5 separate regions of the Homo sapiens genome follow, and all the other regions are linked to region 1. The links are contacts of gene promoters, found by promoter capture Hi-C in blood cells and fetal thymus (Javierre and others, 2016). All regions are on one chromosome and are shown on one strand. The core of a region is centred on a gene start or on the middle of the fragment in contact, and the rest is flanking DNA. Distances in the headings are between cores, read along the strand shown.

Region 1 (2,662 bases), core at 109-2,608:
ATCTTATATGTAGAAGAAATCATCTATAGTGTAAACAAAAGATAGAGACCTTTGTGAAATATCTCCTTCAAACACAACAATAGAGAAGAATGTTGTTTTTCCCTTGTAAAAAGCAATGTCACTTAAAGACCTGGAGTTGTTTCATTAATTCTCTTAGGCAAATTAAATTATCTAATTCAACATGACATGAAATAATGCAAAAGTAAATTACTTTATCTGGCTTCCAAAAATACTAAAACTACTTTTCTCAAGAAACTAAGCAATACTTAGAATACATTCTATTACCAGGGTCAACCTTGTTTCTGAATTACAGTGATGGGATAGTGAAGACAGGAGGCAGTCTCCCTTTGAAATTCTCCAACCAACATGTATTATCTATCAATCAGAGAACAGTTAACTGCATTTTCTTTTAAGTTTATTGATGTTGCTGCCAGCCTGCAATGTTTGCATCAGGACACTCTATACCCTGTTTCAAACCCATACTAACAAAGGAAAAGGGAGACACGAAAAAGGGAAATAATATTCAAAAATATCCAGATCCCACTCTGGGCTTTTTTTCATTAAATTCTCACGTTTCCAACTTCAGTTTCTCCTTAATAAATATTTGTGGTGGTGTAAAATGTGTTCCTCACCCACATTATGTACTTTTTATCAGTGGTAATACTATGAGAAGTGAGAATGTTGTATTGTAGTTACTTTAAAATGATTTTGTAAATATCATATTGTAGAGGTTTGACTGAATAATCAAGAAAGAAAATGCCAAAGTATGGAAACAAACATACTGGTACTAGTTAAATCAGAGTTCCTTCATCTTAACTTTGTTATTTCAGAAAATCTTTAAAATTGAGAGTGCGGTTCAACCACAAGACATTTTAAAGAGAGAAGCAGGACTCAACTGAATTGAAATGAGCGTCATTATTCTATCTTTCTTCCTATACCATACTTGAGTCCTGATGACTTTCAACAATGGCCTCTGCTAAAAGTATCATTCCTTGAAGTGGGTTCTGCAGTGGACATGTGTGTGTATGTGTTGTCAGTATATGTAATTTTGCTTTTACAATGTTGGCAGTAAGAAGAAGCCTTCTAATTTTATTCAGCATGATGATAGGCCCTAGCATTTTAATTATTTTTTATGTTGTGAGTAATTTATTATTCACTGGCTATCTTCCCTGTAAATCTTGTCCTCGCTCTGTAAGGTTTTTCTTTGGTGTCCAACAAAGGGTTTCATTGCAATAAGAATCAAGGTGTGTCTAAATTCTTACCCAGAGCCCAAACAATGCCAGTCTTCCAGACCAGCCTGGGAGTTTGGGGTGGGGAAACAGTCATTATAGAATATCTTCATCTCTCTGCCCAGAGATCACCACAGTTATCACCCATGCCCTCCTAAAAGGGTGTCTCAAAGCATATCTTTCTGTAGAGCAGAATTCGGAACTGAGAAGACGAGGGCTCAAATTGAATCTCACAGGATTTGCGTGCAAGAGAAACCCAAAGGAATGGATTGGCTCTTCTTCAGAAACATTTGCCTTTTGATCATTCTAATGGTAAGTAGAATTTAAAGAGGTGGGAAGGAAATGCAGCCTCAAGGTCTTGTCTCTGTCAACTGTCGGGCTTTCTACATGGGATTTATTCCATTTTTAATCTCCTTCCTGCAAAGAGAGTTCTAGAAGTCCAGCCTCTGTTAATTTCAAACAACTCTCTCCGCCTTGAGGAACAAAATGCCATAGAGAAGCGGGGTGAGAATCTGGCTGAATTAAATTTATATGCCCTCAGAGACATAATCTACTTCACTTTGAGTGTTAGGACTATTCTAAAATTTTAAATTGGAAATAAAATTCATATTCTATGATCATATAAATAAATCAGATAGATTGCTGTGAAAACTGCCAGTGCAAATGGGTTCTAAATTTGAAGGGAAGTTAATCAAACCCATTTCTTTTCAATAGTTATTTCCCTATGAGTTTCTTTCAAAGTGGAGGAATGATAGCCATGTTGAAATTACATTGCAACTAATGATGACATACTAAAGTCATGAGAACTTTTTCCAGTCAGATATTGCTAAAGAAAAATGAAGCCCAGCCATCAAGACAAAACTTTTCTGGAATTATGAATGCATTCCTACAGACCAGCAAAGAAATATTTAAATGACTTATTTCTTTACAGTAAACATGGCATCTTGGATATTATATTTCTTTCCTCTAACCTTTGGGTGCCCAAGGTGTGACATGATTTCCAGACAGGCAGCATGCATAGCAAATATCCTACCCTAGAAAGAGATAATTCCAACTCCAAAGAAGAACAAAGTTCCAGTTGGCCAATCAACAAACTATTGCCAATTCTGGGAGGGTAAGAGGACAGGATTATTAGGAACTGTACAAATTTTTCAAAGTAAATTAAGACAAATGCATTATAGTTGGCCACACTTCAATCTCCCAGGAGTATCCAGGTTAGCGCTACAACCTAAGCTTAGAAAGTGATTCCCATCCTATTCTTAGGCAAGTGGCAATTATACCAGACTCCTCTGAACATCAGTTGTAAGAGACAGAGAGTAGCTAGGGCTGGGAGAGATGGGAGCACGTCATTGTCCAAGAGGCACAGTGAGAGCTACTCTTCTGGAATTCACATTTCTAAACTTCAAGAGCAGTGCGGGAGCCGAACACTGCCA
Region 2 (2,662 bases), core at 101-2,600, 410 kb before region 1:
AATTATTAGAAAAGAACCAGGTGATAAGGATTTGAAAAACCTTGCTTTCTCCTTCCTAACATGGTTTAGCTCCAGCCTGAATATTTCTTGAGTTCTTGATGAAAGCAAAATTATATCAGTCAGTGATTCAGATATAACTTCATGTTTGGAGGAGAGAGTTGTTTCCTAACAGCCACCTGAAACTCTAAGCTAACTTGCTTCTCCCTATTATAAATATGGAATTCTACAAAATCATCTGTCTCCCCTGGACCCCTATCCTAGCTACAGTTTCATTGTCACTCTTCCAGGTCCTTCTGGTTTGATACTAGTATCTTTCCAAGCTTCTGTTTAGTCTCTTCAATCTTGAGACATTGTTTCCAGACGTTTCCCTCATTTCCCCTTCCTGTCTTAATTCACACTTCCTTCCAGGAATTATCCTAGCCATACACTTTCTGCTTATAATAATTCTGTCTTCCTTCAATAAGTTTTTGTGATATTATAAAAATAACATTCCTAAGATCAATATGTTCATCTAGATATAGATGAAGAAATCTGTTAACTTGTTAAAATAGGTATTTTGGTTTTCTTTGAATTGTGCAGAAGAAACAACGTTCCACCGCCTATAAAGCAGTGCTTCTCAAACCTGATTGTGTAGAGGAGAACAGATTTTTTTCTCACCCATCATAAGGTGCATTGCTGACTCCTCATGACAAAAGGCAGTTGTTCATGTCATGGCAGCCTTCAAAAATGAAGACAGAAAGACCCAGGGAAAACCATGTATTGTTATGGACAGTCATGCAGAAGTTTGAATGGTAAGAAATTGAAGGGAAGTTGACAAGGTTTGTTTGTCCAGATCCTTCTTGGTGTTTCTGAGTGACATGCCTTTCCTCCGGTTTTAGGGCAGGACACCTTTCAAATGAGGGTGTTCAGAGGAGAAGCAGCGGAATAGATGGGAGAGGTTTCCTAGGTCTTATGACCTGCTTCAGGGGATAATGGAGGAGGAAGAGTGAGAGTGGCCTTCCTGCTTCTGCTGGTTCCTCAAATGCCAAAGAGCCCTATTTTGGGGTAGCACTTTCTGCACCACATCAACCACACACAAGAAATACATGCTGGGGCCCAAGGCCCACCTCAGGGGCTCTGATTTAAATGACTTTGGGTGAAGCCCAGTCATCTGTATTTTTAAAGTGATTCTGATATACAATCAAGGACAAAAATCTGTTGTAATGTGTTAGATTATAGAACTCTGGGTAAAAAGAGCAGCCCTGAGTAAGGAAATTACTACCAGCTCAGGTTCAGTAGAGACAAAGAAAGTACTGAGAACAGATGTTCTGAGGTAGACTTGCATGAGAAGAGGCAACAAAAATAGTCAGGGAAGCTGGGAACCAGGGAACAGGGTAGACTGTCAATGTTGAAAGAATTTAAAGGCCATTTGTGAACAATTTATACTCAAAACTAAGGACAGAATTAGTAACAGGAAGATGTTAAGGATGTATTTAATGACTTAAACTAGGAGCAGAGTGTAAACTAAGATAATGAGTCAGGCCGAAATCAAATAAAAGAGATAATAAACCTACTCTTAGAAAGAGAGATGATCAAAATTAATGCCAAATCTAGTTAGTAAAAGGAAAAAAAAAAAAAAAAAAACCAAGAAAACAAAAAGAAACCTTCCCTAGCCCCCTGAGACTACCTCTACCATCTATCTCTTCCTCTTCCCTCCACAGCCCAGGCAGCATGGCTAAGAAATACGGTCCTATTTTTAATACTTCTTTGCCTCCAGGTACTCATCCACTTGTCCACTCACAGTGGTCGGCTTTCCAGAACAAGGACTCCAGAGCCACTCTCACTAGGTTCATCTGTGACCTCTTTATTGCGATATTGCATGGGCCTCTTTCAGTAATCTTATGGGGACTCTCAAGCAGACTTTGTCAGAGTTGATTGCTCTCTTATTGAATTCCTCTCTCTTCCCTTGGCTTCTATGACATATCATCCTACTGGTTATCCTCCTATATCCTGGAAAAATCTTATTTTTTCACCTTAGTGTTCTCTTCTTACTTTTCTCAGGATCTGTCTTTAGCCCACCTCACACTCCACACTATACCCAGGCATTTTTATCAACTCCTGTGGTTCAACTGTTCTCAGAAGGCTGATGATGCACACATCTTTGTCTCCTGTACAGACACCTCCTCCAAGCTATAGAACTTGCATGTTCTCTCAGATTTTTCATGGGCACATTTACACTCAATATGTTCAAAACTGAGTTCATGATCTTTCTCTAAATTCTTATGATCAGATTCCCTTAGTCACCAATGTCAGAATTAATAAATCATTCTTGATGTTTTTTCTCCCTCTCTCCCCTATGCAAAATGCATAATCCTCCTCCACAAGGTATGGTCTAAGGACAAGAAGCTTTGACATCACCTGGGAGCTTGTTAGAAATGCAGAATCTCAGGCCTCACTTCAGACCTATTGACTCGGAATCTGTAGTTTTCAAGATCTTCTGGGTATTCTTACATACAGTAATGTATATACACTGCTCTGAAATTCACACCTTAAAAATGCCTCAAATTCAACTCCCACTCTTTATCTCTGATGTAACTATCATAAGCTGAGCTGTGGGTTCTCAAAACTTGCTGCATAGTACAATCCCTTGGGGTTTTTTTTTGTAAATACCAATGCCAGGTTC
Region 3 (2,662 bases), core at 65-2,564, 380 kb before region 1:
TGTTGCATTGGGGATTAAGTTTCCAACATATCAGCTTTTAGGGACAAATTTCACCATAGCAAATGCAAAAGCCTAGGGATATAAAGATAGACATAGTCTCTCGATGGCTCCAAGAAGATCTTATTCCAGGGAGAGAGAAAAACAAATACTTTGAGAATGTGATTACTCTACTATGTGGGTGAGCACAAAATGTTACAAGAGCACAGAAGTAGAGCATTAAAATTCAAATCCAAACAGGGTAGGTGGAATAGAACAGGTAACTGGAAAAACTCTGAGCTAAGAGACTAGGGACTAGTAGGAGTGGGACAAACAAGGCAACCACTGTAGAAGGGTCTGGAGGCAAAAGGCAAACAATGTCCTTCAGGGGTCCCCAACTTCAATCAGTTGAGAACAGCTACCACATAAGATTAGGGTTGGGGGGAGTTAGAAAGGTTATAAAAGGCCATAAGATATAAAGATCTATATGCTATGCTAAAAAAATAGACTTTATTATGAAGATCACAGGGACTGTGAAGAATTTTAACTCATTACAGAGAGAAACACATTTCAAAAATATCATTCTAGGCAATAATGTGGAAGACAAATAAGAAGACAAATTTAAGTTCATGGAGATCAGATGGGGGTCACTGCATCTGATCTGATCTGATATTCCAGGTAAAAATGATAAGGACCTAAGCCAAGGAGGAAGCAGTGATGACTGAAAGAAGTAGATGGACTCCACAGAGAGCCTACAAGTATCTAGATGGATGAGGCAATCAAGGACAGAGTTAGAAATTATTCTTTTGTGTTCCATGAAGGCAAACAGGTAGATGGTACAACTCACTGAAACAGGGAGGAAAGATGTGCTTATGGGCAAGAGGAGAGTGAGCAACTAAAGTTTGAACATGGTAAACATTAGAAACATGTGGGATGTCCAAGATGAATATATGAATATGCGGATTTGGAACTCAGATGAGAGATTTGAGCTGGAGATATAATTCTGGGAGACACTCCCAAATAGGTGATAGTTGAGGCCATGGGAATAGAGGACCTATCCAGAGAAAATTGTCAACCAAAATAAAAAAGGGCTAAGGATAGAACCACAAGAAAAATCACATTTTAAGGGGAGGGTAAGAGAAACACAGCTGTGACAGGCCAGATCTGAATAGCCACTGAGATAACAGAGAAAACCAAAGTGGCAGGACCCTGAAGCCATGAAGAGAGAATATGGTAAGGAGTGGGAGCAGCCAATGATGTTAACAACAACAACAGAAAAATCACAGCAAGGTAAGAATGGGTTCAATTAAAGTATAAGCGCCCATTGGATTTAAGTGAAAGAATAGCCATTGATGAGCTTTGCCAAAAGAATTTCCAGGGAGTGCTGGGTAAGCAGGAAGGAGTATTATAGAGAAATCAAATATAATTTTTTCTTTCCTAAAGTTCAGTTTGAAAGAAAAAGAGAGATGTGGAGGGAACTAGAGGATGACAAAGAGTCAAGGAAATGCTTTAAAATGAAAAAGTCTTCATTAAACATTAACTTAATACTGGAACTTCACTCCGACCCTCTGAGCCATAGGACAGAAGTTTAGTTACAGTGGTAACCTCGACATGTCAGTTTTCATTACAAACAGTTACATTACTTTCAGGACAAGAACCTCCATTACATTCAGGTTCCTTTGTGCCACCTTCCTATCAATTTAAATTTTTTTCTACTTAAAATGCAGTCTTTAACTAAATTGAAAGATTTTTCAAATACAGATGATTTATTGAACCTGAAATATATCTACAAAAGTCATACTTACTGTCGCATTGCCTTAGAAAAAAATACCAGAAAAAAAGAATTGAAAAGTAGCCATTTGGTGGCAGTGCTACCCTACATTTTTTTATTTAAGTTGCCATTACAATAAAATTCAATTACAAAAAAGGAAAAAAAAAAACCCTCCTAATTATTAAATCTTCTTGATGGTATAATTTCGTTGTAATAAACACAAGTTCAAAGATCATATTTCTAAGTGAATAAAAGAGGAATTTAAAATAAACTAAAAGCAATGCTGAGCCTACAGGGCTAGCTTTCATACTTTTATTCTCTGCTCCTTTCTGTCCTCCTCCATCCACATTTCCCAAAGTTCCTTCTCACAGGGTATCAACAACTCTTTATCCATGTCAATAATTTCTAGGTTTACTTTTCCAGTCCTGATTATTCACCCAACTCCTAATCCCATGTGCATGCCTTCAAGTGAAATTCAGATCCAAAGCTAAAATGATCACTTTTACTCATTGTATTAAAGCAAGTTTATAGATTCAAGATGAAATTTTATGTTTTTGTATAAATTAATAATTCCAAGCCCCTTTTAGAAGTGTTCCTAACACAGAACAGGTACATATTGTGAAATGGCCACTCAATATCATCAGCTCTAGCATTAAATGGCAAAGAACAGATATTAAGTAAAAGTCATCCATGCCGGTCTTAAAAATAAAATAAGAACTTACTATGAGTCAAGGACTGTCAAGGGATTAAACCTGCTTTCTCGCTGGAGAGATCATCACAGGTTTCTACATGTAGGCACGTCAAGCATAGATGGGCTATGATTTTGCATGGTGGTGTGGAGGAGTTGAAGAGAGAAATAGTGAATAAGAAAGGCATCTTCACCCCGAGACATAGAAAAGGCTGGATATGTAGTCG
Region 4 (2,662 bases), core at 97-2,596, 350 kb before region 1:
ACTAGATACATGACAATATGCTATTACTATCATCCAAAAAAGTGTTTCATATTTTTAATAATCCATCAATTTTATTTCAACTAATCCTTTCCTCACTAAAAGTATATATATCTATAATAATTAAAGTAGAAATCAGGGCATGATCCACACTCATAGAACAAGCAAAATTAATTGTCCTACATGAAAATTGAAACCTTTGCTGAACTGGAACCAACTAGCCACACATAAGAAAAAAAAATTTATAATGAAATTTTTTCTTTTCTCATCCCTTCTAAATGCCAATTGATCTGCGTTTCTAGTCCTTATGGCTACTCTAACATAAGGAAATAGAAATAATATAAAAAACAGAAAAAATTGTTAGGAATTCTTATTGTCTTATGCCTAAAATAAAATTAAACTATTAATCCACAGGATAGCAAGTTATAATAAATGGGGGAGGGAAGCTTAATCCTCAGCGAAATGAAATTCTATGGAGTGTGTGAGCTACCTCTCTGTCCAAATAATGAGAGACTGTGGTGATTACGCCTGTGCTGGGATGCACAGAAAAGAGCCCAGGTGACCTTGGTGTCTGCTGCAAAATGCTGTATTTCAGGCGCGTATGCATTGTGTCCGGTTCATCTCTGTCTGTGGCACAAACCACCCCCACTGTAGTACCTACACATTAAAAAATAAAACAGCCTTTAATTTACAGAATTGTTAAATATACTTTCAAAAGTATCTACAATCTTAAAATGTTAACAGTGATGATAGAAACCTAATCTAAAATGTATTTATTACCAGAGTATTATTTCATCTTTAGATAGGACTGAAGAGGATAACTTCAAATTTATCACACATAACACTTTGATGCTGAAAATTAAGGTATACTTTTGCTCACAGTTTAACACATTTGATCATAAATCACTAAATAAATTAGTTAAATGGCAATCAAAATTAATTGGAATACATATGTGCACATATTTCAATAACAAACCTAGATGGAGGAATAAACCATGTCTCCTTAATAATCAGATTTTTTAAAAATTGGACTTTTGATTAATAGCTAAATCAAGACTGATTAGGGGTATGCAGTAATAATATAGATGATCAAGTTGACCTTTAGTAGTCCAGCCTCTCCTTTCTATAATCTTTTTGCTACTTCCTGATTTGATTTGTTTTAATAAACCGGTTTAGTATCACAGCCTTAACTGGTCTGAACCTACTGATAAAATGTGCTTAAAGTACCTTGGGTTAAGCTGGGCATCGAAGTGTTTGTCCTTTTTTTTTCTCTGTTACTGTAAAAGAGAACAGACTCCTCAAGAAAGCCTGAAACTAATTACCCCTTTTTGAAAAAGGGAAAGCATACCCCATTGCTAATTAATTAAAGGCAATATAATGTCAATGTAATGTCATAGAATTGTGAGGCTAAAAACATTGTAGGTCATGTAATGTAATGAACTCCTTTTACAAGTAAGAAAACTCAGAGGGACTTCCATGAGTTTCCACAGTGAGTTAGTAACACACCCTACATCAAAAACGATGTTTTCTATGCTTTAGTGGCCATTTTATTATCTGTGTGTATTCCATAACATCATGTTGTAAACCTTCACTACACACAATAAAATTTATTTAAAAAGAAACAAAACTAGGTTTCCTAAACTCCAAACCAATAATTTTTTTAAATTTTTAAAATTGTACCACGTGAGTAATAAAGAGGTTAACATCTATGACATCAGATTAACAAAGGAAAACATAAAGGGAAAAAGCAGATATAATATTGCAGTGAAGATCTAAGCAACTACTGGAAACTTTAAAAAGCAAATTAGGAAAGTCATCCTTTATGACTGAATCCTCCTTCTTTTAACTTTATTGTGAGGGGTTATTCTCCATATTACAAGTCTCAGAAGCCATCGTAAGTGCCACATTTTAAGGGCCAGGTAAACTAAAATACTTCAGTTTTCCACATGTAAGAGCAAGTGTTTAGAATAGAGAACATTTGATGTAAGTTTCTCTGAAGTTATTCCGGTATTCATTCTAAATTGGAAGTAGTGAGGTAGTAGTTTTAAAAGAAGATAATATAAATAGGAGCATAAAAAAAACTGTACCCTTAGTGGATGTCATTTAACACCTTCCTAAATAAAAGCTCAAAGAAAAAAACTATACCGATTTTAGTTTTATTGTTCATTCCACCCTGCATGTCCTCTCTTGGAGTTGAGAATAATGAAAAACCCACGAGGAAATGAAATAAAATATATAAACTGAATATTACACAAAGCTTGAATAACTGTTAGCTCCCTTTACAGTTAATTAGTATCATATTGACAATGACAGAAACTTCTGTACTATCTGGGCAAGGCACATGTTGATTGAAAGTGATGGGATTAAGTGTTTTCTGGTAAGTAGATTCTAGTTCAGCGTTATCTCAGGCTGATCTGGCCTTGAGTATAAAAAGCTCTATGTCTTTTAAAATGTACACAGACATATTTAAAATGATTCTTTTTATTCTTAAAAGCAGACTTACCAGGTCTACTACTTTCCAAAACTTCAAAATTATAAATTGCTTCTGTGAAAACAGGGTGGTTGTCATTTTCATCCTCTACCCTGATGGGTAGTGGGAGGGGCAGATCTGCTGAATATCCATCTGCAGTTGACGCATAAGCAATCAACTGCAAAATAGCAAAAA
Region 5 (2,662 bases), core at 64-2,563, 320 kb before region 1:
ATGCTAAGAGGACAATTAGGTGCAACATAATGAATCTAGTTTTCCAGTCTGCTTTTTCAAAAGCTTTAGAACATTATTTAAATGTGCTGTTCCAAGATGAAACATATTTTAATGCAGAGGGCACAAATGCCTAATCCTCAATCCCTTTCTCTTAAAGAAAATGTTTAGAAATGTTAACGTTTTAATTAAAAAAATGATTAAAACTGAAAGTGTTGCCTTTTTTTTTCTTTTCTGCTTAAACCTAAAATGTATTGCAGGGTTAAAATTATTAACGTTATTCTTGGAAGAAATAGCATATCTAATTATAATTGTAGAAAATGAAGTTGTATCTGCGAGTTAAATCCTGCTCTGGTCTCCAGGAAAGCATCCAAATTATTTCATCATCCTAGACCTTATTGTTTACAGCCGTGTGAGACTATGAATCCATCAACCATACAGAGGGTTTCAGGATTATTTTTATTATGTAGAAGCGTTCTTATAATCGTATGTATCTTCATAAGATTTCTATGTGTTAGGCAACAAAGAGGAATTTAAATTAACTGATGATTGTATAAAAATTTTGTGTGAGTTGCATTAACATAACTGAAAATGACTGGTATTTGGGATTTTCTTTCTTTTATTTTTGCAAAGAAACTTCAACCACCATAATGAGGACAACTAAAACAGGAGATTGTCTGTATTGCCCTCATTATAAGACAGTATCTATTGTTTCTGCTTCCTATTTCACTGCATGCCTATCGAATCTGTAAACTTCTGATATCCTTCCAATACATTCTCTCACACTCCCGAGATAACCAAATTTGCCTTCTGTTGCCTTTGAGAAGCTTTGCTATGACATAAGTATGTTAACTTTGTGTTTGCTATGACATAAGTATGAAACACATTATTAACTCTGTGTTTTTCTGCTAGTTTTCTTACTAGAAGGCATGTAGTAACTGCATTATGTTTTTAAAACTTTTGGGTTTAGATTTGTATTTCTTTCAGATATCATACCGCACTGAGATTGACCTTTAAACTGGAATAAGTAGGACTTCGAACACCACTAAACCTGTATCAGCTCTTCTAATAGGAAATTTCTGCAGAAAGGGAGAGTTATTGTGAAAAAAAAACTTATTGTCTTTAAAATGTTAATTTCATCTGCTGCAGTATTACTAGTATGATAAAGATGGTTATTAATGACTAGAAGTATGGCCGGAGGTTCCTTTCCCAAGTGCTCACTTTTGTTAATCCTATAATTCAGATTCAAATGAAATAGGCTGTGTCCCATTCCCTGTGTGGAGGGATATTAGAGTGCTCCCGGACTGTCTAGGTATTCTAGACAGCCTGTTGTAGTTTTCTGCCTACACACCGCTCTGATCTCTTCCTTCCTCTTGATTAACTCAATTTTCTGTTACATATTCCTAGAGAGCTCCACCCGATTCCACACTGCAACACCCCAGGTGTGAAATACAGCCTCCATTTCTTGTTTTCCACAGAAAGCCCCATGCACATAAGGCATCTAAGTGAGTAGCAAACTTATTGAAGTTTGAGGCAGTGGAAAGAAAAGATCTTCCTCTGAAAACTCTGGACATTTGGTGGAGTCACACCTCAGCAAAGGACTTAAGTTAGCCCTAAAGTCTCCACCAAACCTGCCCTAAGAAAACTTAAGAAGAAACCTCAAAAGGACTCAATTTATTTGTTTAATAAATAACTTAAACTGCCGCCGGAACAAGGCTCAACAAGTAACAAAATTGATTTTGTTTATTATAATAAGGTAAAATTCCCAATGTCCAGCACTAACTTGTTTACAATTTTAAAACAAGCAAGCTTTTGACAGCTTTCTTCCCTGAATGATAACAGAAACTCACAGTACACCTGGCTCCCCACAGGAGGACATTTGCCATTGATTCCAAAGGAATTCTGTAATGATGTAAATGTGAAGGGATTGGGACATCTCTTGCTAAAAAAGGTCACACACACACACACACACACACACACACACGCACACGTAATATTTGTAAGAACATTCCATTACAGATTTTTTGTGGCACTTTTTAATAGTACGTCTCCGTGAACATATTATATCACTTCTGGGACTACATATTTTTGAGAGCAGAGGCCATATCTTACATACAGTAGATACCAAATAAATTTTAACACCGAACATTTACATAGAACTATGTTCTAGCAATTTTTTAAAGCAGATGAGGAAACTGAAGACTAGGGAGGTTCAGGTTACACAGATGGTTTGTGGTAGAGCCCAGATCTGAACCTTGCCTGTTGGGCCCCAAGGGACCCAAAGTTCAGGCTCTATCCCAGACCGCTCTGTTAGGTTGCATGGAGAATGCGATGCATTGTGCAAAGATTAACTGTGATTGTGTCTACTACAGGAGAAATAAGGAGCAGCTTAGCTTGCTAAAAAGTGAACACATTTAATTGGTTTAAACTTGCATTCATTATGCAAACTTTGCTTGAAATATTTCATTTGACAATTCTAGTAAATTAATACCTATTCTTAGTCTAGATAGTGCATAACAAATTACTGACGACAAATCCTAAGTGCGTTAAAGTAAAATTTTAAGACCAAAAGCACATGAATGCACTCAGTTATGATAATGTGAGATGATACAGTATTTTCTTTTTGCTTTCAATTTAATCATTTACTGTAAATATAATATGTTCA

Evidence for each region. Contacts are between HindIII fragments. The CHiCAGO score rates a contact against its expected background, and 5 or more counts as called.
Region 2: a fragment that was not itself captured here is called in contact with the fragment with the promoter of DSG4 in region 1 in 1 of 17 cell types (monocytes); the score reaches 7.1 in monocytes.
Region 3: a fragment that was not itself captured here is called in contact with the fragment with the promoter of DSG4 in region 1 in 1 of 17 cell types (M0 macrophages); the score reaches 5.4 in M0 macrophages.
Region 4: a fragment that was not itself captured here is called in contact with the fragment with the promoter of DSG4 in region 1 in 3 of 17 cell types (M1 macrophages, monocytes and M2 macrophages); the score reaches 6.2 in M1 macrophages.
Region 5: a fragment that was not itself captured here is called in contact with the fragment with the promoter of DSG4 in region 1 in 1 of 17 cell types (monocytes); the score reaches 5.1 in monocytes.

What each region holds. Positions count from the first base shown.
Region 1 is chr18:31,375,419-31,378,080 of GRCh38, forward strand. It overlaps DSG4 (desmoglein 4), which reads left to right and starts at 1,359. Exons shown (of 16, transcript NM_177986.5): 1 at 1,359-1,541. The coding sequence starts at 1,494. All of the region lies in intron 1 of DSG1-AS1 (DSG1 antisense RNA 1), which reads right to left. The HindIII fragment of the contact is 4,758 bases long and covers 1-2,460 here.
Region 2 is chr18:30,962,431-30,965,092 of GRCh38, forward strand. No RefSeq gene overlaps it. Among named protein-coding and RNA genes, the nearest start is that of DSC3, 79 kb to the right of the region's middle. The HindIII fragment of the contact is 2,065 bases long and covers 319-2,383 here.
Region 3 is chr18:30,997,545-31,000,206 of GRCh38, forward strand. All of the region lies in intron 14 of DSC3 (desmocollin 3), which reads right to left. Among named protein-coding and RNA genes, the nearest start is that of DSC3, 44 kb to the right of the region's middle. RefSeq lists an enhancer at 1-216. The HindIII fragment of the contact is 2,840 bases long and covers 1-2,662 here.
Region 4 is chr18:31,021,849-31,024,510 of GRCh38, forward strand. It overlaps DSC3 (desmocollin 3), which reads right to left. Exons shown (of 16, transcript NM_001941.5): 6 at 2,501-2,645; 7 at 488-654. Among named protein-coding and RNA genes, the nearest start is that of DSC3, 20 kb to the right of the region's middle. The HindIII fragment of the contact is 1,811 bases long and covers 442-2,252 here.
Region 5 is chr18:31,056,823-31,059,484 of GRCh38, forward strand. DSC2 (desmocollin 2) reads right to left here. Exons shown (of 16, transcript NM_024422.6): 16 at 2,018-2,662. Among named protein-coding and RNA genes, the nearest start is that of DSC3, 15 kb to the left of the region's middle. The HindIII fragment of the contact is 982 bases long and covers 823-1,804 here.